Regions from separate parts of the Homo sapiens genome. Here all the other regions are linked to region 2. The links are contacts of gene promoters, found by promoter capture Hi-C in blood cells and fetal thymus (Javierre and others, 2016). All regions are on one chromosome and are shown on one strand. The core of a region is centred on a gene start or on the middle of the fragment in contact, and the rest is flanking DNA. Distances in the headings are between cores, read along the strand shown.

Region 1 (2,894 bases), core at 98-2,597, 240 kb after region 2:
CTGAGGACACCGCGCGGGAGCTTCCCGGGGTCCGACCCGCGCCTCCCCACCAGCCTCCTCCACCCCAGCCAGCCCCAGATCCAAGGGAACAGGATAAACGCCCCCAGTCCGATCCCGCCAGCCCGCTCCCACAATTAAGACAAAACGAAAAAACAGCAATAGAAGCAAACACAAAAAAGCCCCAAACGGAAATCTGCCGGGATCCTGCCCTACTCTAAATTCCGGGTTAGTGTTGCCTTCCCCTTCCCTCTCCAAGCACCCCTTCCCTAAGCCCGGCCGCCTTCCCACACCCGCTCTCCGCTTTCGGCCCCCAACCCGGTTCCTGCAAAACCCATTGAAGTTCCCTTTCCTTCCTTCTTCTCAGTCCTACAAAACTCGTTGGTAGGGTCTGTGGGAGCCGCGGGGCCCTGCCAACCTCGGGGCTGGGCCGGGAGCCGAGCGCAGGCGGTCGGAGGGCAATGGAGCAAGCGACAGCTCCAGGCGCTCCTGGGCCCTCGGCTGGGAGGGAAGAGCCGAGGACCCTGGGTCGCACCGCGCAGATGGAGACGCGCTCCCAGAGCCCCCGGGCAGGTCCAGGGACCCCGCGACCTGCTCTGGCCCAGCGGTGTGACCCCGCGGGTCCTGGCGGTCCTGACTGCCCGCAGGGGAGGGGCGCGCCACTTTTGGCTGCCCTAGGATGCGCCGCCTGAACCTCTTTTCCCTCGCGGGCAGCGTCCGCCACATTCCCCGGGTTCCTCGGAAACTCCAATCATTCTACCAGGACTATTGGGGCCTGGGGTAGCCCCTCGGGAGCCGCGTGGACGAGCCCTGGCCAGGTGGGAGCGAAGAGCCTCGGCGACTGCCAGTCCTCCCGCCCCCGCACCGCCGGGAAAGGATGGCGTTTTAATAGACAGGCAGCAAGTTCACCGAGGCTGAAGAATGAAGCCCCTTCAGGGCCGGCGGGTCTTGAGATCAATGAGCCCAATAAGAAAACCAAGCAGGGTCATGACTCAGAAATTAAAGAACACGGGGTCAGGAGAAGAGGTCAGCCACGACACAGGCAGCGGCCCGTCTCCTCCCGATCCTCCAAAGGCGCCCTTCTCCTAGCCTCCTCCGACCTCAGGGATCTGCAACTTGGGATTCAAAGCCCCCGAGAGGGCAGAACGACCATCCAAAACGAACTGCGCCAGCGAGTGCTGCCGCCCTCCCCAACGGCCCTGGAAGACCACCGCCCCGGGCCCCAGGCGCGTCCTGTCCCGTGCCTACCTCCGACACCACCTCCAAGAGCGCCACCGCGGAGCGGGCGCCTCCTGGACGCTGCGGGGCCACTCGGGCTCGGTAGGCCACTCGGGCTCGGTAGACTTCGGGCGGGCCCTGAGGGCTGAGCCAGGCTTAAGAGGGCGGGCGGGGCCGCGGGGCATCGACAGGTCGAGGGTAGGGAATTGACCCGGCCCACGCAGATCCCCGCGTCGTCTTCTCCCCGCCCACCGCAGCCATTGGCCGACTCTCGACTCGCCCTCTGTCCCCTGGGGTCGCTCACTTAACTCATCAGTTTTCCAAACCCTCCCTGGGACCCTAGTGGCGAGCACTCGCCGCTGGCCTTCTAGGGCAGGCAGTATTGCCGCTCCAGGCGTGCGGAGTCGGGGAGAAAAAAACCGAACACGTGTGCTACCCAGGGCCCCCAGATAAGCCCCTCCGCGCGCACACACACCCTGAACCGGAGTCCAGAAGGCCGGACTCGCGTCCCGGGGTCGAGCCCCTTACTCTCCGCTCCCAGTTCGGAAGATCCCAGCCTGCCCGAAGGCGGCGTCTGACCCGCTGGTGGACCTGGTGGGTGTCTGTTCCTGATACCTGGGGACGAGGCGGGAGCGCCTTGAGCGCTGGGAAGCTTCGCCTCGCGAGTCCCCGGCAGTGACACGTGGGAGCGTTGGGCCCGGCACCCCCGACGCTTCCGAGGTTTCGGGTGGTCGTTTTGCTCTCTCGGGGGCTTTTATTCCTTAAGTGGCTTTAAACGACCGAGGATGGGCCTCCCGCGCCGCCGCAGCTGTCACTTCCTTCGGGAAAGGCTAGCGACCTTGGACGCGCAGGCTCTGAAAACCAAGGTCCAGACCCATACCGAGCGCCCAAAGACCGCATTTGAATTCTCCTCGCCGGCCATTGAGGGAGAGAAAGGAACGCTTAGTTCCATTCACATTCACAGAAAGAAGCGCCGAGGGTGGGGGAAACGCAGTCTTGCCGGGTGAGCCGGGACAGGTTCCTCGCCTGCCCCCCGGCCGCTGCTTCCTCTTAGCTGAATGGGGAGCGACCCGCCCCGGGCGCGGCCTTCGGGGCTGAAGACTGAGGTGCAGCCTCACCCCCGGCCTGGCAGCGGCTTGGAAGAGAGAGGGAAAGGAGGAACATCTACCCGGCTAAGAGACGCCGCCAGAGTCCCTAAAGCTGGCGGGGGACGGAGGCCGGGGTCCCGGATCTTCAGAGCGCCCGCAGCCGGGCTTCTGGGCTCCTCGGTGCGGGGAACCTGACCCTGTAGCCTTCGCCAGGGCGCGGCGGGGCTGCAAGAAGGGAGGAAGGAGTGGGACTAGAGCCTTCGAGGGCGCGGGCGGCGTGCACTCAGCCTTGTCTCCCCGCGCGCCCTGCCGCCTGCTTGCCCCCTTTGCTGCACCGGGTGGCCCTGGTCCCCGCGCCCGCCCGCCCCCGACGCCTTCGCGTGGTTCCGCGCTGCCCGCGGCCAGCCCCGTTTCGCTTCGCAAGGAGCGTGTTGTTTTCTCAATCGAAATGGGATCAAGATCCCAGGGTTTCCTCGTCTCCTTGTTTTGAGGTGATAGGATCTTAGCCAATAGATCGAAAACGTGAAAAGTACCCGTCGCCTCTTGTCCCAAGTGCCTCTGTGGAAGGATCATTTACTTGGAAAAGCAGAA
Region 2 (3,049 bases), core at 502-3,001:
CCAGCGCCCCGGGGACCAGGGTTAGGTGACCCCGAACCGTCCCTAGAGGGACGGAGGAGCTAGTCAGGAGCGGAGCCCCGGAGGACTAGGCAGCAGCCGGCTGCAGTCTCCAGTCCCGGAACAATAAGCAGCAGGCGGTCGGCGGAGACTCTCCCTCATTGTCTGCCGCGGACCTGCCCCCGTCCCGCCCCTTCTGCCTTAAACATTGCGTTTGCTTTTATATGTTAATAATTATCAACCTGGCAGCTCTGACTCAGAGGCAGTGTCTTTTAATCGAGTGAACTAACTGCAGCCTTTCCGTACTCCTACTCCATTACTCAAAATAGAAAATGCCCAAAAGAACAAAGGAAACTTTTTCACAGACACACAATGTATTCCCTGTCCCAATTTTTCTAAAAGGAAAAAAGAAGGTGGGGGTAAACTACGTGTGTAGAAATGTGTGTGCACACTGGTGTGCGTTGGCACGTGTGCGCGACTAGATTTGAATCTGTCTGCTCCACCAGAGACACACATTCAAAGCCGAAGGCAGCAGCAAAAAGGTCAACATGCTTGCCTCTTTATTCCCAACACCAAAAATAACCCCCTGACCGAAAGAACTCTTCAATTACAAATACCAGGGGCATTCGAGGCTGTGGCCCGCACTAAGTCCCAGAGCGCGGTATCAAACGAAACCGAAAATCCGTCTGCTTTGCCGAGAGCTAGGGAAGCCACAACCAAACAAAGAGATCCCGGCACGCTGTCAGAGAGCGCGCGAGGAGCCCACGGAGCCGGCTGGGCGCACGCGGGCCGGCGGGGAGGTGTGCTATTGACTGAGCGCACCCCGCTAGCGTGGGCCTGGGGAGCGTGTGCGCGTGCGCGGCCACACACACACACACACACACACACACACACACACACACACACCGGCGTACTGGAACCTCTCTCGCGATCCCGCACCCAGCTTGAATTCAGCAAGAATCGAAAACAGGTGTGCCCCCGTGGTAAGACCCCGCCCCTAATCTTGGGGACCCCCACTCCACTCCTCCAGCCTGGGGCAAGGACGGGGGGCGGAATATGCACCAGGTGGGAGACAGCCGAGCTTCACTACACTGGGTTTCATTTTGCAGCGCGCCTTTGTGATGCTGCTGAGAAAAGAAAGGAGGAAGGGCAAGGGAGAAAGGCAGAGAGGCTGGGCGGCCAAGGGTGGCCGCTCCGGCATCTCCCTCGGCTGTGCTGGGCCAAACCCGCTCCCAGATTCCCGGCCTGCCAGCCACTCACAATCCCGGGCTTCCCCGCCGCTGCCTTACCCAGGCGCCTTCCCGGGGAACCCCACCAGCCGCTGCGTGAGGAGCCGGGGAATCCCAGCAAACTCTCGCCGCTCGCGGGGGGCGTCCGAACCCCCTGCTTAGGCGAGCGCCCTCACAGCATCGCAGACTCGGATGGACACGCGGATCCCGGCAGGGAGCTCTTGGAGCAGGCGTGGAATCCCAGGGACACCCCCTGCGCGCACATCACATACACGCACATCCTACACACACACACACACACACACACACACACACACACACACACACAGAGCCCGTGGGAAGACAAGACCGCCGGCGACAGCCCGCCGCGCTGCCCGGGCGCTCAAGCCGCCGCTACTCACTAGCGAGTCTGTCAGTCTGTCTGCCTGGCTGAGTAGAGCGGCGGGAGGGGGGCACTGAGCTACGGGAATAGTTGGGAGCCGCGTGAGGAGGCAGCCTCCGTCCAGCCGAAGAGAAATCAGTGAATGAGACTGTGACTCAGGCTGAACTCTTCCCCCCACCCCTCGCCTGTCACCCAAGCCTCTCCTCCGCTCCAAACAGACACACGCGCACAGAGACGCGCCCGGAGAGGAGCAGCCGAGGGCGCAGGCGCGAGGGCAGCCACCCAGCCCAGCCCTCCCACAGCCAGCCACCCCGCTGCCCTTCACCTGCGTGGCTGCGGGGGCCCAAGAGCGCTGAAGCCCCGAGGGAGCCGGTCTCTAGAAAAGTCAGCGGCTGAAGCTGACAGCCCACTCTGAATAAATAAATCATTTCTGATCGTTTATTCCGTGCCTTGGGCACACACCATGTCTCATTCACCATAGTAGATTCTGGGACCAAAGATAAACAAGACAAGATACTTGGTCGGAGGAAACCTCTGGCTTGTGGGGGAAATACTCATGTAAATGGCTTAAAACAACGTGGTACATCTATGCAGCCTGCTACTGGAGTAGCCAATATCCATTAGCCTTCATTTCCACGCAGCAGGAAGAACAGAGGCACGGGGGCATGGTGCTGCCAGTCAATAGGTAGATAAGCTTCCTAGAAGATTGCAGGGATGGGGCAGAGGACCAGACTGCAAGAGTGGCTGAGTAGAAAGGGGCACTACGGGTTTCCTAAGTTGTGTACTGTCAATAATGTGGGGGCAATGACGTTCTGACTTCCTCACCAGAGAGCTGGCTCTGGCAGTGACAGGTAGACAGATGTGAGGCCACACTGCGGGCACAGAAGTGAGTTGGGAGGCAGTCTGAAAGCAAAATGTGATGAGGCATTGGCAGGGGGCATGGAGAGGAGGGAACTGGGCAGCTGATGCAATCTGCAAGAGAAGAAAACCAGCCGAGGTAGGATGACTCCCAAGTTTCTAGCACCAAGTTGGGTGACTACGTGCCTGACAGCCAATAAAAGCACAGGTGGAGAAACATGCTTTAGGAGAAAGATTGTTCTCATCTACATGTGTTGAGTTTGAAATGTTTGGGGGACATCCCAGTGTACGTGTCCCATAAGCCACTGGACACACAGGAGGTTTGGACTAGGAATATTGATCAGTAGTCATCAGCCCAAAGGTGGCATGAGAAAGGATGGAATGAATAGGGAAGATCATCCAAATTGTGAAGAATCTAGGAGGACAGCGTACAGCCAAAGGAAGGAGACTGGAAGCAAGGGTCAGAGAGGTGTGGGACGCATCAGAAAAGCCAAAAGAGCAGACGACTGTAAGAAGGGAAGGGTCAGATGTGTACAGGCTGCAGGGAAGACAAACAGGATGATAACTGAAAAAAAAAAAAAAA
Region 3 (3,057 bases), core at 218-2,717, 170 kb before region 2:
AGTACAGACAAAACTACAGACTTAGTCTGGTGGACTGGACTAATTACTTGAAGGATTTAGATAGAGTATTTGCACTGCTGAAGAGTCACTATGAGCAAAATAAAACAAATAAGACTCAAACTGCTCAAAGTGACGGGTTCTTGGTTGTCTCTGCTGAGCACGCTGTGTCAATGGAGATGGCCTCTGCTGACTCAGATGAAGACCCAAGGCATAAGGTTGGGAAAACACCTCATTTGACCTTGCCAGCTGACCTTCAAACCCTGCATTTGAACCGACCAACATTAAGTCCAGAGAGTAAACTTGAATGGAATAACGACATTCCAGAAGTTAATCATTTGAATTCTGAACACTGGAGAAAAACCGAAAAATGGACGGGGCATGAAGAGACTAATCATCTGGAAACCGATTTCAGTGGCGATGGCATGACAGAGCTAGAGCTCGGGCCCAGCCCCAGGCTGCAGCCCATTCGCAGGCACCCGAAAGAACTTCCCCAGTATGGTGGTCCTGGAAAGGACATTTTTGAAGATCAACTATATCTTCCTGTGCATTCCGATGGAATTTCAGTTCATCAGATGTTCACCATGGCCACCGCAGAACACCGAAGTAATTCCAGCATAGCGGGGAAGATGTTGACCAAGGTGGAGAAGAATCACGAAAAGGAGAAGTCACAGCACCTAGAAGGCAGCGCCTCCTCTTCACTCTCCTCTGATTAGATGAAACTGTTACCTTACCCTAAACACAGTATTTCTTTTTAACTTTTTTATTTGTAAACTAATAAAGGTAATCACAGCCACCAACATTCCAAGCTACCCTGGGTACCTTTGTGCAGTAGAAGCTAGTGAGCATGTGAGCAAGCGGTGTGCACACGGAGACTCATCGTTATAATTTACTATCTGCCAAGAGTAGAAAGAAAGGCTGGGGATATTTGGGTTGGCTTGGTTTTGATTTTTTGCTTGTTTGTTTGTTTTGTACTAAAACAGTATTATCTTTTGAATATCGTAGGGACATAAGTATATACATGTTATCCAATCAAGATGGCTAGAATGGTGCCTTTCTGAGTGTCTAAAACTTGACACCCCTGGTAAATCTTTCAACACACTTCCACTGCCTGCGTAATGAAGTTTTGATTCATTTTTAACCACTGGAATTTTTCAATGCCGTCATTTTCAGTTAGATGATTTTGCACTTTGAGATTAAAATGCCATGTCTATTTGATTAGTCTTATTTTTTTATTTTTACAGGCTTATCAGTCTCACTGTTGGCTGTCATTGTGACAAAGTCAAATAAACCCCCAAGGACGACACACAGTATGGATCACATATTGTTTGACATTAAGCTTTTGCCAGAAAATGTTGCATGTGTTTTACCTCGACTTGCTAAAATCGATTAGCAGAAAGGCATGGCTAATAATGTTGGTGGTGAAAATAAATAAATAAGTAAACAAAATGAAGATTGCCTGCTCTCTCTGTGCCTAGCCTCAAAGCGTTCATCATACATCATACCTTTAAGATTGCTATATTTTGGGTTATTTTCTTGACAGGAGAAAAAGATCTAAAGATCTTTTATTTTCATCTTTTTTGGTTTTCTTGGCATGACTAAGAAGCTTAAATGTTGATAAAATATGACTAGTTTTGAATTTACACCAAGAACTTCTCAATAAAAGAAAATCATGAATGCTCCACAATTTCAACATACCACAAGAGAAGTTAATTTCTTAACATTGTGTTCTATGATTATTTGTAAGACCTTCACCAAGTTCTGATATCTTTTAAAGACATAGTTCAAAATTGCTTTTGAAAATCTGTATTCTTGAAAATATCCTTGTTGTGTATTAGGTTTTTAAATACCAGCTAAAGGATTACCTCACTGAGTCATCAGTACCCTCCTATTCAGCTCCCCAAGATGATGTGTTTTTGCTTACCCTAAGAGAGGTTTTCTTCTTATTTTTAGATAATTCAAGTGCTTAGATAAATTATGTTTTCTTTAAGTGTTTATGGTAAACTCTTTTAAAGAAAATTTAATATGTTATAGCTGAATCTTTTTGGTAACTTTAAATCTTTATCATAGACTCTGTACATATGTTCAAATTAGCTGCTTGCCTGATGTGTGTATCATCGGTGGGATGACAGAACAAACATATTTATGATCATGAATAATGTGCTTTGTAAAAAGATTTCAAGTTATTAGGAAGCATACTCTGTTTTTTAATCATGTATAATATTCCATGATACTTTTATAGAACAATTCTGGCTTCAGGAAAGTCTAGAAGCAATATTTCTTCAAATAAAAGGTGTTTAAACTTTTTTCTGTTTCAGAGAAATGAACTTAACCAAGTTTTTGTGGTACACCCATTTCTTGCAAGTAAAATTGAGTCATGATCTCTATTTACATGATTGAATACTAACCAAACTTATAAAATGGAGCTGAAGTCAATGTGTTATAGAACGTTCTCAGATTAACAACTTCACCACGGATTTACCTCATTGCTGTCTTGAGGGAGGCAGCAGAGGCAGCGCCAAGGTAGCTTTCCCGGCAGGCAACCTAGATGGTCACAAAGGGCCAGCACTTGGTTTAATGCTCTGATGTCACCGCCTTGAAATCCTTAATAATTTTTTAACAAGGGGCCCCACATTTTCATTTTCCACGGGGGCCCTGCAAATCAGGTCTGGGCAGAACCAAAAATGGTTCTGGGCAGTAAAATGGAATTTTTCAAAACCAAGAGAACAGACCCACTGAAGGCAGTGTCGGTTCTTCAGGAACCAGGAACTTGGGTGGAAACCTAAACACCCTTCAAGATCTCAAGTTTTTTGATACACAAATTCCATATGCTTCCTTCTGTCTGTTCCAAATCTCCTGAAGAAATTTAGCCTTCAGGTTGAGGGGCTAAAAATCTGTGAAATGTCCAGAGACCAGAAGGTTAAAAATAAATAAGAAGAAGAAAAAAAGAAAGCAAAGGGTCAGGGGACCTACCAATCCAACCCTTGGATAATTGAGGAAACCAAGTTTTCAAGAGAACATAGTCTAAGATAATAGCATTGTTGTCCAAAGGCGCATCTT
Region 4 (3,099 bases), core at 10-2,509, 150 kb before region 2:
AGACATCAAAAACAATATCCCCAAAACATTCAGTGGATGGTATAATCCCTTATCACCTGCACAGAACAAGCACATGCATTTTAACCTTTTAGTGAAAGCAACTTCGTACAATCTGTTCTTCACAAAGAATCAAACTGGGCTCAATAAGTAACTGTGTAGAGGCCGGGCACAGTGGCTCACACCTGTAATCCCAGCACTTTGGAAGGCCAAGGCAGGCAGATCACCTGAGGTCGGGAGTTCGAAACCAGCCTGACCAACATGGAGAAACCCCGTCTCTACTAAAAATACAAAATTAGCCAGGCATGGTGGCACATGCCTATAATCCCAACTACTAGGGAGGCTGAGGCAGGAGAATCACTTCAACCTGGGAGGCGGAGGTTGAGGTGAGCCGAGATCATGCCATTGCACTCCAGCCTGGGCAACAAGAGCAAAACTCCATCTCAAAAAAAAGAAACAGTAGAATATGAAAACCTTCTCCCACAGTATTACAGCCCATTTATAATTTACAGGAAAGGGAATTCTCAAAATAGCCTATTCTTGAACTGTCAGAAATATCTTTACTTTGAAAGTTTTTTTTTAAGCCGGAACTGAACTGATATAGTCTATGAAAAATGGCCATCACCCATCTTCACAGACTCCAGTCAGGGGAGGTGCTTTCCTATACTTTTTTATCAGCACCAAATGTGGTCATCTTGACCTTCAAATCCATCACAAGGGCCCTGTCAGAGAAACAAATGGCAGGCCTAGAGCTCAACCTTATCAAGTTTCACTGACTTGGCGCAGAATATAAAGTAGGAGAAGGCTGATATGGAACAAAATCCCTGCACCCAAATGTTCCAGTCATCCCTGGAAAAAAAAATAATAGCAATGCATAATTTTCTTTCCTCTAGGTTTTCATCAGAGGTATTTTGTAGGTTACTTGGAGCCTCTTGAAAAGAAAGACTGAAGTCATTGTAGCTGCATAGGAATTTCATCACATCCTTGTCACAGGATGTTGGACTAACAGAAGAGGAACTTGTGAAATATACTCACCCCAGTGCTAAGATTACCACTATTAACACAGCCAGCCAGACAAGGGTTAAAGTATGTAATTCCATCTGATCCACAGACTGGCTCATACTCGTGTATTTTACAACCACAATTAACGTTGCAGCTTCCTGTCAGATTCCTATGGGGCATGGTGAGAGAAGGTCTAAGAGAGAAGAGAAGCAGATCATGAGCAACACTTACCAAAATAAAACTCATAGGAAAGGTCTTGAAATTAATAATTTGTCCATTTTAGAGAAAATATTCTTCCCATTGAATCAAAGCCATGATACCCAAAGTAGTCATCCTCAACAATTATTTTGTGACTTTAAAACAAAACATAAAGAAAAATGTTTCAACTTACTGGTATTACAGATTCAATGCTTTTTATCAAATTACTGCCCCACATCAATTTCACCCTCCCTCTTGGTGCTATGAACCTGGTCTCAACATCTGGGCTCTGCAATTCCAACCCTAATATAACTACTCACTTACTGTAGGCGCCAGGCTCTACATCTTAACAAATCTGTACCTCAATTTCTTTATAAAATGGAGAAAATACTTTTTAGTATTGAATCAATAACATCACTGTGAGCACATGATCACTGTTAAAATCCATCTATCCCAGTTATTAATATACGTTCCTTCGACCAAAAACTTGTATTCTAGAATAAATTATCAAAGAAAGGCATTGGGGCTCTAGACAATCAAAATGAAGTATTTTCAAAGATGATTAGGAATCACATTGCTAGTTTGATTTAAACAACCAGAGAATAAAGATTAAGCAGTTCTTCACTCAGGATTGCCCCGGTGTGGATCCACAATCAAATATGGTGGGTTTCTTTTCTTGAGATCATGGTGTCTGATACAAAGAAATGATACCATATGAAAGGCTTGAAGAAAATAAATTCAGGCAACAAATATAGAGGGAAGGAAAGGCAGGTAAGGATATAGGCCTGGGGAGAAGAGTGTAAACAAACAGCGGTGGAAGAGCAGAGGAGCACCTGGGGGATCCACAGGAAAAGGAAAGGCGCTCTGTACTGCTCGTACCCCATGACCGCTTTTGCTTTTGTGACCACCAGTTTTGTGTATCACTGATGAAATGTTGTTCCCAAGACTAGATGAGTTAGCAATAGCAGATCCTTCATCCAACCATCCATTTTTCCAGTATCTACCCATTTAACAAATATTTTGGAATGTCTGTTACGTACCAGGTCTTATCTTTTTTGAAATAGATTTAGAGGGGGTGAAAGAACAGTTTTGTCATGTGGATATATTGTGTAGTAGCGAAGTTTGGGCTTTTAGTGAACCCATCACCTGACTGATGTACATTGCACTCAATAGGTAATTTCTCGCCCCTCAACTCCCTCCCTCGCCACCAAGACTTATCTTTTTTTTTTTTTGAGAAGGAGTCTCACTCTGTCGCCCAGGCTGGAGTGCAGTGGCGTGATCTCCACTCACTGCACCCTCCACCTCCCAGGTTCAAGCAATTCGCCTGCCTCAGCCTCCCGAGTGGCTGGGATTACAGGCACCTGCCACCATGCCCGGCTAATTTTTGTATTTTCAGTAGAGATGGGGTTTCACCATGTTGGCCAGGCTGGTCTCGAACTCCTAACCTCGTGATCCACTCCCCCTTGGCCTCCCAAAGTGCTAGGATTACAAGCGTGAGCAACCATGCCTGGCCAAGACTTATCTTTAATGACTATGCTGGTACCACTTATACAGTAGCATAGCCCATCCCAATCATGCGTGTTAATTGGTGTTTGTTCAAAGGTTTTTCTCCTGTGGCCTCTTTCAAACTTTGATAATGAGTCCTTAAATTTTAATGGGGGAAACAAATTCAAAACAATATTAAAGTCTTATCAAGAAATCCTCCTAACAATGCAAAAGGCAAATAAATTCTGTTTTTCATTCATGTCGCTCCATAGAAAAAAAGTATGACAAGACTCTAATAATCATTACATTCACAAACTCCTAGTGTCATATCATCTTAAAGTTTGTATATACCTAAAAAAATATTATTCTAGACTAGTGGGTCTCCACTGGGTCAATTTTGCCCCCCCAGGGGACCTT

The links. The method cuts DNA at HindIII sites, captures the fragments that hold promoters and counts their contacts. A CHiCAGO score of 5 or more calls a contact.
Region 1: the fragment with the promoter of PRDM14 here is called in contact with the fragment with the promoter of SLCO5A1 in region 2 in 3 of 17 cell types (naive B cells, erythroblasts and total B cells); the score reaches 10.6 in naive B cells.
Region 3: a fragment that was not itself captured here is called in contact with the fragment with the promoter of SLCO5A1 in region 2 in 5 of 17 cell types (neutrophils, naive B cells, total B cells and 2 more); the score reaches 14.1 in neutrophils.
Region 4: a fragment that was not itself captured here is called in contact with the fragment with the promoter of SLCO5A1 in region 2 in 1 of 17 cell types (neutrophils); the score reaches 5.1 in neutrophils.

What each region holds. Positions count from the first base shown.
Region 1 is chr8:70,069,905-70,072,798 of GRCh38, forward strand. It overlaps PRDM14 (PR/SET domain 14), which reads right to left and starts at 1,348. Exons shown (of 8, transcript NM_024504.4): 1 at 1,246-1,348. RefSeq lists enhancers at 842-1,571, 1,572-2,301. The HindIII fragment of the contact is 12,104 bases long and covers 1-1,865 here.
Region 2 is chr8:69,833,227-69,836,275 of GRCh38, forward strand. It overlaps SLCO5A1 (solute carrier organic anion transporter family member 5A1), which reads right to left and starts at 1,752. Exons shown (of 10, transcript NM_030958.3): 1 at 1,628-1,752. It overlaps SLCO5A1-AS1 (SLCO5A1 antisense RNA 1), which reads left to right and starts at 886. Exons shown (of 4, transcript NR_186568.1): 1 at 886-967. RefSeq lists enhancers at 8-77, 1,508-1,587 and a silencer at 1,908-2,017. The HindIII fragment of the contact is 8,160 bases long and covers 1-2,300 here.
Region 3 is chr8:69,658,610-69,661,666 of GRCh38, forward strand. SULF1 (sulfatase 1) reads left to right here. Exons shown (of 23, transcript NM_001128205.2): 23 at 1-2,303. Among named protein-coding and RNA genes, the nearest start is that of SULF1, 170 kb to the left of the region's middle. The HindIII fragment of the contact is 267 bases long and covers 1,335-1,601 here.
Region 4 is chr8:69,681,152-69,684,250 of GRCh38, forward strand. It overlaps SLCO5A1 (solute carrier organic anion transporter family member 5A1), which reads right to left. Exons shown (of 10, transcript NM_030958.3): 7 at 1,033-1,192. Among named protein-coding and RNA genes, the nearest start is that of SLCO5A1-AS1, 150 kb to the right of the region's middle. The HindIII fragment of the contact is 5,118 bases long and covers 1-3,099 here.